Regions from separate parts of the Homo sapiens genome. Here regions 1, 3 and 4 are each linked to region 2. Evidence: promoter capture Hi-C in human tissues and cell types (Jung and others, 2019). All regions are on one chromosome and are shown on one strand. The core of a region is centred on a gene start or on the middle of the fragment in contact, and the rest is flanking DNA. Distances in the headings are between cores, read along the strand shown. Region 1 overlaps CACNA1B (calcium voltage-gated channel subunit alpha1 B). Region 2 holds the start of ZMYND19 (zinc finger MYND-type containing 19). Region 3 holds the start of LOC105376328 (a long non-coding RNA gene). Region 4 holds the start of NRARP (NOTCH regulated ankyrin repeat protein).

Region 1 (2,700 bases), core at 80-2,579, 340 kb after region 2:
TTTTTCGTCTGCGATACAGTGGAATGGGGGGCGTTGCAAAGGGAGTAGCCTCTTCTTTTGTTACTTGGATGTGGAGAGGTGGAGTTTTCCTTTTGATTTAGTTCTAGGAAGTCAGCACAAATCGGCCTTAGGTTCCTTGCCTCCAGACCCTATTCTCCTGCCTCATTTCCCCCGAGATGTGATCCCCATCATCTTTATAGGAGGCCGAGGGACTGATGGTTTTTTCTTCAGTAACTGCTTCATGCTGATTTGGGCACAGTTCCTACCTATTGGGGATCATGGAACTCTCACCCTGCTCTGTCTAGTGGAGACATGGTAGTTGCTGGATGGCCAGGGGTGGTGTCTTTACCTGGAACTGGCTGGAAACCTTGTCTCATGATCATCTGAAGCTTGATGGTCTCTGGGCGAGAGGAAATGAATTTGTTTAAGAGATTTAATGAACATGGTCCAAAAACCAAGGCAAATATAGTCATTAGTGATGGGCCGGCTAGAGGAAGGAGCCATGCACCTCAACTTAGCATTTCTGACCAGGAGCCCCATGACTCAGACAGCTGTTGTCGTATCTTAGGGGCCCAGTCAGCTAATTTCCAGGCGGCATCCCTTACTAATCCTGATTAGTTGACATAAAAACAGCATTTTTCCTCTAGAAAAAGACATAAGCCACCTTTTTAAGCAGTTAGGAGATCCAGTCCCCTTCAATTCTGTAAAGTGACTGCTGCCAAGGAGTCTGTCTGATTTTGTATGGCGACGATACTTTGGGCAGTGTCTTCTGAGCTTTCCATAAAATCTCTGGACAAGTTAGTGATAGGATAGGGAGATTGCAAGCCTGCTAACTCCCGTTTCTACTCTTGCTGTTCTTCCTAACCCAACCAAAAGGGGTGTGAGTTGGATGGCTCATTTGTGTCTGGTGGTTGCAGTTAAAGGTATAGTGAAGAATTGGTTGTTGGGAGCTACATTAATTTTGGGAGCTAAATAACAAGTTACAGGTTCCAGTCCAGTTGGCTGGTAAATCTAAGTAGGAACTGGTCCCGCACGGGAAAAAGGCTCCTTGTTTTTCAAGACAGAACTTGTTTTCTATGGTGAACACATGGGCTAGCTTGTTGTTTTCACTTTCCCATATGGTTGAGGTCTTTGCTAAGGTGGCCCTGGTTAAAGGCTGGAAAGGATCTTGGGAAGTATCTTGAGTTGCCCCAGCAGTTCTCTTTTCCCAGTGGAGGTAGTTAGGCTTAGTGTCCAGTAACAATCACCCAGAGGTATTTTCATACTGGGGAACCAAAAGGCAACTAGACGTCTCAGGATTAGTACATTCTTCACAAGGGAAACCGTGAATGCAGCTAGTGGGCCTGCCTCGACCATACTTAGGCTGTCCATCCTTTAAAGCCCTTAACCAGGGATGGTTTCCATGAAAACCGTACAGGTTATCTAAATGATGCGGTTTGGGTAACTGTATAGCTTACGTAATCGAGTGAAGGATTAACTTCCAGGGTGTAGTTGCATTGATGACTTTATTTTATCTTTACTTTTATTTATTTATTTATTTATTTATTATATTTTTTGAGATGGAGTCTCTCTCTGTCGCCTAGGCTGGAGTGCAATGGTGCGATCTCAGCTCACTGCAACCTCCACCTCCCAGGTTCGAGCGATTCTTCTGCCTCAGCCTCCTGAGTAGCTGGGACTACAGGCGCGTGCCACCACGCCCGGCTAGTTTTTTGTATTTTTAGTAGAAATGGGGTTTCACTGTGTTAGCCAGAATGGTCTCAAATCTTCTGACCTCATGATCTGCCTGCCTCGGCCTCCCAGAGTGCTGGGATTACAGGTGTGAGTTTTTTGTATTTTTAGTAGAAATGGGGTTTCACTGTGTTAGCCAGAGTGGTCTCAAATCTCCTGACCTCATGATCTGCCCGCCTTGGCCTCCCAAAGTGCTGAGATTACAGGTGTGAGTCACCGCGTCCGGCACATTGATGACTTTTCAAGGTTCCAAGGACCGGACCAGAATTTTCGCTTCTGTTAATACAAAGTGGCACCTGCAATTTTAGCTCTGTGTACATTTATATTGGGCCCCAAATTGGTTTCTGAGGGGATGCAACTCCAGAAAGGTTGCTCAGATGGGATTGGAGTAGGTTTACTGCTTATCCTGTCATTGTAACCCTTGTCATTTCCATGATTTTGAATTCATGTATGTCATCCAGGCTCATTAGTTTGAAGAGAGTTCCTCCTTTGTAGTTAGGGTGATAGGTCATTTCCTTAAGGGCCCAAGATTGGGCTGGGATCAGGATGGCAGTATATTTAGATGATGATGGAGATAAACAAAACCAACAGTCCTTTGCCAGGGCTGGGCTGGTGGTATTTAAGTCTTTGTGTTAAATTTAAAGTTCTTAATAAATACCCAGAATCCACTAATTGCTGGAGGGGTAAAGGGAAGCTCTGTTGTGAAATAAAGCTGATTGCTAGTAAGACATGGTTCCTGTATACACAGGCTGTGGGTGACCATTATGGAACAAAAAAAAAATTACTTATTTGTTATTTTGTCCTATAGAATGGGAACTTCAGGGGGTGGATACCTATGCTGTCAGGAATGCTTGTTATAAAAATGAATTGAAACACTTTGGTTAATTATTACAAAGGAAGTGATTCCATCCATTTTGAATAAAACAAATTGTAAAAATATAAAAAATAGCTACCAATATCCAGCTTACGATA
Region 2 (2,700 bases), core at 63-2,562:
GACAATGCCATCATGGGTGGAGTTAGAAGGGGTCTCTGGTCTCCGACCTGACTGGAGAGCCCACCCTTCCCTGGTGGAAAAAAGCCTCCTCCCCAGCAGGCCCTGCCTATGCTCTTGCAGCAGGGGCAGGAAACAGGAACAGGTCCCAGAACGGGCCAGTCTCCCTCTTGGCAGTTTTTCTTCTGGGATCTGAACCTGTTTTACCTGACGCCGCCTGACACTGCCTCGGCTCCTCTCTCCCACCAAAAGCCGCAGCCGCTGGTGACGGGAACAGGGCTCCCATCCGGGTAAGGACCCTGGCTGGTGCAGCTGCACAGGTGGCTCCGAGAAACCGCCAAGCCTCAATGCCCACAGGTGCCATGGAATCCCCAGCCTCAAACGTGGAGCGTGGGGGCCAAGTAAGAAGAGAAGTCGAGGAAGGCCCTGAGTCTGCAGCATCAGGGCCCAGGCTTCTTCCTCTCTGCTCCGAGTCTGAGGCTCAGCCTAACGTGGCCAACCCCTGGCAGCGTTAAAACGAGCCTGAAGCCCTGCTGAGAACTGGGAGGCACAGAAGAGCCCACACCAGACCCGCCTCGGCGAGAGGTGTGGAAGTGGCGCTGCCTCGGAAAGGGCGCTGTGTTTAAACCGTGTGGCCGCACTGGCAGCCCGGACGCCGCGCTAGGCCCCGGATCGCCGACACCACTGGGAGGGCTCCGGGAGAACGCGGCTCGGGCTCGAGCCACGCATCTCCGCACCCGGCTCGGGACAGGGCCGTGGCCTCCACCTCCGGCAGGGCAGGGCCGAGGGTGGCCAGGTGCACCCCAGAGCCGAGGGGTGCGTGCCCGCCGGCCTGCGAGAGGAAGCTGCACCCGCGCGGGGCCAGCAGCCGGGCCCGCGCAGCGTCCCCCGCCCCGCTGGGGCCCATCCCGGGCTCCGCGCCCCCGCCCCGGCCGCCGCCCGCACAACCGCCCCCGGCCCCGCGCGGAGGCCTGGACGGGCGAGACGGGCCGGGTCGCGGGCTCCGCGCCGCTCACCTTCCCGGCCACCCGGCCGAGCCGCACGATACCCAATTTGAAGTCGGTCATGGCCGGGCCTGCGCTCTCGGCCGGCAGCGCCGCTCCCTCGGGAGGCGCCGAGCGGGGGCCGGGGCGAGGCCGCGGCGCGCCGGGACAGGACGGGACCGGAGCCGGGGTCGGGGTAGCAGCCAGGCGGGCTCCGGGCGGGACGAGGCTGGGCCGGGCTCGGGCCTCCGCCGCCGCCTCGCGCCCGCCGGACCTGCCACGCGCCGCCGCCGCCGCCGCCACCGCCACCGCGCGCACCACAGCGAGCGGAGCGGAGGGGCGGGGCGCAGCCCCGGACACACCCCCCGGCCCGCCGCCGCTCGGCCAATGGCTAGGCGCGCACGGCGCCGACCGGCGCGCGCCGCCCCGCAACAACCAATAGGAGGAGGGCGAGTGCGCCGGCGCTCTGGGGAGCGGGGCGAGCGCGGGGGAGGGGCGAGGCCGGGGGCGGTGCCTGCGCGCGCCGACGTCAGTTTCGCGGGAAGCTTTGTGCGGGCAGCGGCGCCGCGCCTAGAGGGGCAGTGCGGAGTGTGGCTGGGGACTCGCGCCGGGTCCGTGGAGCTCTGCGAGCTGGCTGCTTTTCGCCTCCCTTGCGGTAGCCTCCGTAAGCTGTTTCCCGCCGCCGTCCTGGCCCCGAGCGCGGAAGGAGGAGGTGGACGGAGCTCGTGCGGGGCCCTCTGGGCGGGCGGGGAGCGGGCGAGGCGGGCTAGGAAGAGGCCGTTGCCGCGGGACGCGGGTGTTTCTGGAGAGACAGCGGACGCCCGGCCCACGCGACCCGGAGGGCGCGGCCTCCCGCGCAGCCTTCTCCGAGCCGCCGGCTCTTCAGCCTCGGGGGCGGCTGACCTCCAGAGCAGCCTGGTCCAAGGCGTCTGGAAACGGAACTCCAGTGAGGCCCATTAGGCTCCGCGGGAAAGCCGAGACCCGCTCAGGGAGGGACTGGGTACGCCGTGGTGGGCAGCGTGGCTCCCCTGCAGCCTGGAGCGAACGGGGCTAGGTCCTGCGTCCTGCTCCGCCGGTGTCCAGTCGCCCGTGAGGAGGCCTCACCCTGCCTCAAGGGCGACTCCTGCACCTGAGGAGCTGCACAGGCTCCTTTCTGGCTTGCTGGGTTCCGTTTTCTTTTCTTGCTTTTTTTTTTTTTTTTTTTGAGTCAGAGTTTTGCTCTGTCACCCAGGCTAGAGTGCAGTGGCACGATCTCGGCTCACTGCAGCCTCTGCCTCTCGGGTTCAAGCGACTCTCCTGCCTCAGCCTCCCGAGTAGCTGGGACTACAGGCACGCGCCACCATGTCCGGCTAATTTTTGTATTTTTAGTAGAAGTGAGGTTTTTCCATATTGGCCAGGATGGTCTCGAACTCCCAACCTGAGGTGATCGGCCCACCTCGGCCTCCCAAAGTGCTGGGATTACAGGCATGAGCCACCGTGCCCCAGCCTGCAAAGGGTGTACATGAGTGAGCCCAGACGTTCCATCTCTGGGTCCCCTGGTACTTGCCAGTACCCCAGACACCCTAGAGGACTGAAGGGGCTGATGAGTCCTGGCCTGCCTGAGACACACATTGGGGTTCAGGCTGGGCCTTGCTCAAAACATGCCTGTCCGACCGCGCGCGGTGGCTCATGCCTGTAATCCTAGCACTTTGGGAGGCCGAGGCGGGCAGATCACGAGGTC
Region 3 (2,700 bases), core at 173-2,672, 430 kb before region 2:
ACAGGAGGGCGAGCCCAAGCAGGAGTGTGGGTCGAAGAGGCCACGGCGCGGTGGAGCACGTACACACGGGCAAGAGAAAGGAGCCAGAGACCTACATTCAAAGCCTGAGGGCTTCGGGACTGGGGGCCGGGACAGGCAGTGCGCCGGGATGAAGGGAGGCACGGGTGGGTGGCCCCACGGGTCCCAGGTCCTGTGCAGGTGCAGGGTCGGCTTTGTGGACATGCCCCTGTCCTCGTGGCACAGCAGGGTGGGGGTCAGCCTGCAGGCTGGGCTGTTTCTCACCCCAGGAAGATGCCTGGCATACACGGGACATCAGCGGCTCCTCTGCTGGAGGGAATCATGTCTTTTTTTTTTTGAGACAGAGTCTCGCTCTGTCGCCCAGGCTGGAGTGCAGTGGCGCGGTCTCCGCTCACTGCAAGCTCCGCCTCCCGGGTTCACGCCATTCTCCTGCCTCAGCCTCCTGAGTAGCTGGGACTACAGGTGCCCACCACCACGCCCGGCTAATTTTTTTGTATTTTCAGTAGAGACGGGGTTTCACCGTGTTAGCCAGGATGGTCTCGATCTCCTGACCTCGTGATCCGGCCGCCTCGGCCTCCCAAAGTGCTGGGATTACAGGCGTGAGCCACAGCACCTGGCGGGGAATCATGTCTAAGCCAAGACTGGAGAAAAAGTGGCCAAGAGAAGGGTCCAGCTCTCCAGGAGTCTTTTCTGAGCCCCCAGCCCCCACCCCCCCGGGGCTGCAGGCAGACGATGCTGACGGTGGCTGGGGAGGACGTGTCCTGAACACTTGGGCTCGTGAAGAAGCTCCAGAGAGGGGCAGTGGCCGGCGGCGCAGGGCGGGGGGTGTGAGGGGTGCGTCGGGGATTAAGAGGGGCGCCAGGGGAGGCTGGGAGCTGAGAAGAGACTGCCGCCCTGGGCAGCCTTAGGTCGGTGGTCCAGGCTGGGTCTCCCCTTCCCCCCCAGATTGTGACGATCCACCAGGAGCCCTTCGTGTACGTCAAGCCCACGCTGAGTGATGGGACATGCAAGGAGGAGTTCACAGTCAACGGCGACCCAGTCAAGAAGGTGATCTGCACCGGGCCCAACGACACGTCGCCGGGCAGCCGTGAGTGCGCGGGGCAGGGCGCGGGGCGCGGGGCAGGGCGCGGGGCGTGGGGCGGTCTGGAGCCCAGCAGTTACCGCCCGCACCTACCCAGCCCGCCACACGGTGCCTCAGTGTTGCTACGGCTTTTGCATCGACCTGCTCATCAAGCTGGCACGGACCATGAACTTCACCTACGAGGTGCACCTGGTGGCAGATGGCAAGTTCGGCACACAGGAGCGGGTAGGCTGGACGGCGGGGGTGGGGACCAGCGTGAGAGGGGCCTGCAGGCGCGGTCGGAGTGGGTGGGGCATGGAGTAGGCGGGGCTTGCAGATGGTGGGGGGTCCTGGGGTGAGTGGGGCATGGAGTGAGCGGAGCCTGCGGGCTGGGTCCTGGCGTGGGTAAAGCATGGGGTGGGCGGGGCCTGAGGGCTGGGTGGGGCCTGACATGGGAGGGGCCTGACGTGGGGGTCGGAGTGGGTGGGGCACGGAGTGGGCAGGGCCTGCAGGCGGGGGTCTGGAGTGGGCGGGACGTGGAGTGGGCGGGGCCTGCTGGCTGTGGTGGGGCCCGCCCGGCGTGGGAGGGGTCTGCGAGCCAGGGCGGGGCTGGAGTGGGGTGGGGCCTGCGAGCTGGGTAGGGTCTTGGGGAGAAGACCCCCGGAGTGCTCTAGGGCGGCTTCAGTCGGGGGTACCTGTGGCGGGAGCTGGGAGGACGCTGCCTGCATGCCCGCCGGCTCTGTCGCCTCGCAGGTGAACAACAGCAACAAGAAGGAGTGGAATGGGATGATGGGCGAGCTGCTCAGCGGGCAGGCAGACATGATCGTGGCGCCGCTAACCATAAACAACGAGCGCGCGCAGTACATCGAGTTTTCCAAGCCCTTCAAGTACCAGGGCCTGACTATTCTGGTCAAGAAGGTGGGCAGGGGCCGGGTGGCGGGGTGGCGGCGGGGGGAGTCCCTGGAGGGCCCGGGCCGCGCTGACCTCGCGTCCCTCCGCAGGAGATTCCCCGGAGCACGCTGGACTCGTTCATGCAGCCGTTCCAGAGCACACTGTGGCTGCTGGTGGGGCTGTCGGTGCACGTGGTGGCCGTGATGCTGTACCTGCTGGACCGCTTCAGGTGAGCGCGACCCGGGGCTCAGACACCTCCATCTGCGGGGCGCGGAGCCGGCCAGGGGCGGGGCAGGGCCGCCTCTCCCGCCCTCTCTCCCGCCCGCCCTCTGCGCCCCGCAGCCCCTTCGGCCGGTTCAAGGTGAACAGCGAGGAGGAGGAGGAGGACGCACTGACCCTGTCCTCGGCCATGTGGTTCTCCTGGGGCGTCCTGCTCAACTCCGGCATCGGGGAAGGTAAGGCCCCGCCCGGCCCGCCTGGTCCCGCCTCGGCCCTCTAGGGTCTGACAGAGCCCCCCGCCCGCCCACAGGCGCCCCCAGAAGCTTCTCAGCGCGCATCCTGGGCATGGTGTGGGCCGGCTTTGCCATGATCATCGTGGCCTCCTACACCGCCAACCTGGCGGCCTTCCTGGTGCTGGACCGGCCGGAGGAGCGCATCACGGGCATCAACGACCCTCGGGTGAGGCCTGGCCGGGCTGGGGGAGGGAATGCGAGGTGAGCTGGGGTCGGCCT
Region 4 (2,715 bases), core at 215-2,714, 290 kb before region 2:
TAGACGCGGGGAGAAGGGAAGGGGGAGGGACAGCACGGGAACACCATCAGGCTGGGCGGTATTTTCAGTGCAACCAAGAAATGGTAGACTCAAGTTTTTAGTTTTAAGACTAGAAAAAAATGCATCACTCCCCCCCATAACCACATTGACCACGCAGTGTTTTCCAAACAAAAAAACCAGGCGCACAAACTCCACCCACAAATGTACACACACAAGATAAATAGTTTAGAACACCAGCAACAGCGAACAGCCGAGCGTCTCCTCGGCCGCGCGCCAGCGGCGCGGACCTCGGACCTCGGGGCTGCTCCTCGGCTGCAGCCGGCATCGGCGCGTCCCGGGCCTGCGGGCGGGTCCTGAAGGCGGCGGCGGAGCGCTCCGAGTCCGCCTTCGGCTCCCGCCGCCCGCCTTTCACCTTCGGGAGAAAACATTTTGCGCAGAGGATCCGGTATCTCGGGATTCCGAACTTGCTGGTTGCGAGACTCAAATTTCAAAAGGGGCTGGAGCCCGCGCCCCGCCCCCACCCGCGAGGCGGCGGGCAGGCGAGCGGGTGGGGGCCGTGGGAAGCTGCTCCGGCCCGGCCGGGCCCGGCTAGGCCGCAGGGAGGCGCTCGGCCGGCGGGGCTGCCGGACCCTGGGGCCGGGACGCACGCGCCGTATTCGCCGTGGCCACGGGCCTTCTGGCGGGGCCTGCGAGCCGGGCGCGCACCGAGGTAGTTGGCGGGAAGGTACAGCAGAGACGACGCGGGCGCAGGGCCGGGGTCCGGGGTCCCGGCGGGCATCACCGGCCGCTGGCCGCGTACTTCGCCTTGGTGATGAGATAGAGCACGATGTCCTGGTGGCCACCGAACGCGGCGATGTGCAGCGCGCTCCAGCCGTCGCGGTTGGCCAGGCGGATGTCGGCGCCGAACTTGACCAGCAGCTTCACGAGCTCCAGGTTGCCGTCGATGACCGACTGGTGCAGCGCCGTCTGGCCCTCGGGCCCGAACGAGTTCACGTTGAACTCGCAGTTGGTCATGTTCTGCAGCAGCGACTGCAGCTCCTGCGTGTTGCCCTTGCGCACAGCCTCCTGGAAGATGCGCTGCGTCTGCGGCGCGGAGCAGGTGGACAGCTCGGCCTGGCTCATGCTGCCGCCGGGCGCGGGCCGCGGGCCGGGCCGGGGCTCAGCGCGGGCGGCGGCTGCGGCGCGGGCCCCCGGCTGTCTCGGGGCGCGCCTCGGCGCATGGAGGGCGCGGCGTCCCCGGGCCCCGCACGCCGCCTCTGGGCGCTCCGGGCGCTCGGGGCCGGGGGTCGCCGCCGCGGGGACCCCGCCGCATCCAGCCGCGCCCGGGTGGGCGACGGGGGCGCGCGCTCGGCTCGCGGGGGCCGGGCCCGGCCGGGGACGGCGGCGCCGCGCGGTCCCGGTCCCTACTCGGTTCGGCTGCGGCTCCCACGCGGTCCCAAGGCGCCTCCCCACGCGCCGCAGCACTAGCTCGCCCGCCGCGCCGGGGCGCCTTTTACCTTCTTTATATTTGCATAACAATGGCAGCCCGTGACGCGCGCGCCGGCGGCCCCGGGATTGGGCCGCGCCCACATGGGGGCGGGGCGTGGGCGGTGCCGTGCGCAGGGGTCCGGGGGCGGGTCCCGGCGGCGGCGCGCTTCGCGGCAGGGGGCGCTGGTCGCCGGCAGCGCCTGGGCGGGGGAGGCCAGGTGGCCGCCGGGGGGGTCCAGCTCCGTCGCCGCCGCCGTCCGCGCGCCCCCCGGGCGCTCCGCGTCTCTTTGCGGTCGTCCCGCCCCTTCTCCCTCCGGCCACCCGGGGAATTCCAAGCTCCCTCAGCAGCCAGACCCAGGCCTTGCCCGGTACCCGAGCGCGACCGCCAGGTGGCCCCGAGGGCGGCCTCTCCCGGGCAGGGGGTTCGCGGGCATCTCAGGCCCGTGGCGAAGGAGAGACCCCTCTGAGCGGAGAGGCGCGCGGCGACCCCGGCCAGCCCGCGCCTCCGGGCTCACCGTCCACGCGGGTGGCAACTCCAGGCCCTGACGTGGGGCCTTCAGCCACGCGGGTCCTTCCCGCGCGCGGGCAGCCTCATGGCCGCCGGCTCAGCCTATGTGTGCCCCAACCGTACTGATGCGAGGGGCCTCCGGCCGGCCACCGCGGCTTCTATCGCCTGGCGGTGAAGGGGGTTCCGCTGTCCTCTCGGGAGGAAGCCCCGGGCCGGGGCGCAGCGGGAGGGTCGGGACCGCGGCCTGCCTCCCTCTGCTGCCCACGCACCAGCATGCGGGACACATAGGTCCTGCCCAGGTGAGCAGGGCTAGGTGTGGCGCCAGGGCCAGAAGGGAATTCTGAAACGCCTGGCTTCCAAACTGTAAAACCCATTTTTATTGACCACTCTAACAATTGACCGGGAGGCACTAGCAGGGGAAGCACAGCGCATTTCCTCATTAGAGTTTTACAGTTTACAACTCGCTGTGGTCGTTGGAAATTAAGGAGGAGTGATTCTCAGGCGCGGAGCAGGAGGCCAGGCAGGCTGGGGCTTGAATTCCTTCTGAAGCCAAGCCGGGAATTCCGCGCAGGCAGCTCTGAGCTCGGGCTGGGGAGACCCCCATGCCAGGCCTTGTCTGAGGAGGCTTCCGCCCACCAGCTCCATGTCCCCACATCCGGCTCCCCACAGGGGTGTGTCCCCACCCCATGCTGTGCCCATACTGGCAGGAAAAACTGGGCAGGCTCCCTTCGGGACAGACC

Evidence for each region. The method cuts DNA at HindIII sites, captures the fragments that hold promoters and counts their contacts. A contact is called where the count stands out against the background at its distance.
Region 1: a fragment that was not itself captured here is called in contact with the fragment with the promoter of ZMYND19 in region 2 in 2 of the 25 tissues and cell types used here (dorsolateral prefrontal cortex and lymphoblastoid cells).
Region 3: a fragment that was not itself captured here is called in contact with the fragment with the promoter of ZMYND19 in region 2 in 1 of the 25 tissues and cell types used here (lymphoblastoid cells).
Region 4: a contact is called between the fragment with the promoter of NRARP here and the fragment with the promoter of ZMYND19 in region 2, in 1 of the 25 tissues and cell types used here (lymphoblastoid cells).

Annotation. Positions count from the first base shown.
Region 1 is chr9:137,931,395-137,934,094 of GRCh38, forward strand. All of the region lies in intron 6 of CACNA1B (calcium voltage-gated channel subunit alpha1 B), which reads left to right. Among named protein-coding and RNA genes, the nearest start is that of CACNA1B-AS1, 14 kb to the right of the region's middle. The HindIII fragment of the contact is 9,868 bases long and covers 1-2,700 here.
Region 2 is chr9:137,589,200-137,591,899 of GRCh38, forward strand. ZMYND19 (zinc finger MYND-type containing 19) reads right to left here and starts at 1,313. Exons shown (of 6, transcript NM_138462.3): 1 at 1,014-1,313. The coding sequence starts at 1,064. It overlaps LOC124902318 (a long non-coding RNA gene), which reads right to left. Exons shown (of 3, transcript XR_007061885.1): 3 at 1,840-1,909. RefSeq lists an enhancer at 399-448 and silencers at 719-768, 819-928, 1,209-1,598, 1,789-1,858. The HindIII fragment of the contact is 9,636 bases long and covers 1-2,700 here.
Region 3 is chr9:137,160,093-137,162,792 of GRCh38, forward strand. It overlaps GRIN1 (glutamate ionotropic receptor NMDA type subunit 1), which reads left to right. Exons shown (of 20, transcript NM_007327.4): 9 at 964-1,105; 10 at 1,197-1,324; 11 at 1,832-1,996; 12 at 2,080-2,198; 13 at 2,312-2,424; 14 at 2,499-2,647. It overlaps LOC105376328 (a long non-coding RNA gene), which reads right to left and starts at 968. Exons shown (of 3, transcript XR_007061878.1): 1 at 92-968. RefSeq lists an enhancer at 2,695-2,700. The HindIII fragment of the contact is 6,049 bases long and covers 1-2,700 here.
Region 4 is chr9:137,300,807-137,303,521 of GRCh38, forward strand. NRARP (NOTCH regulated ankyrin repeat protein) reads right to left here and starts at 1,465. Exons shown (of 1, transcript NM_001004354.3): 1 at 1-1,465. The coding sequence starts at 1,122. The coding sequence ends at 778. RefSeq lists silencers at 323-372, 493-552, 623-702, 1,385-2,024 and an enhancer at 764-1,682. The HindIII fragment of the contact is 30,312 bases long and covers 1-2,715 here.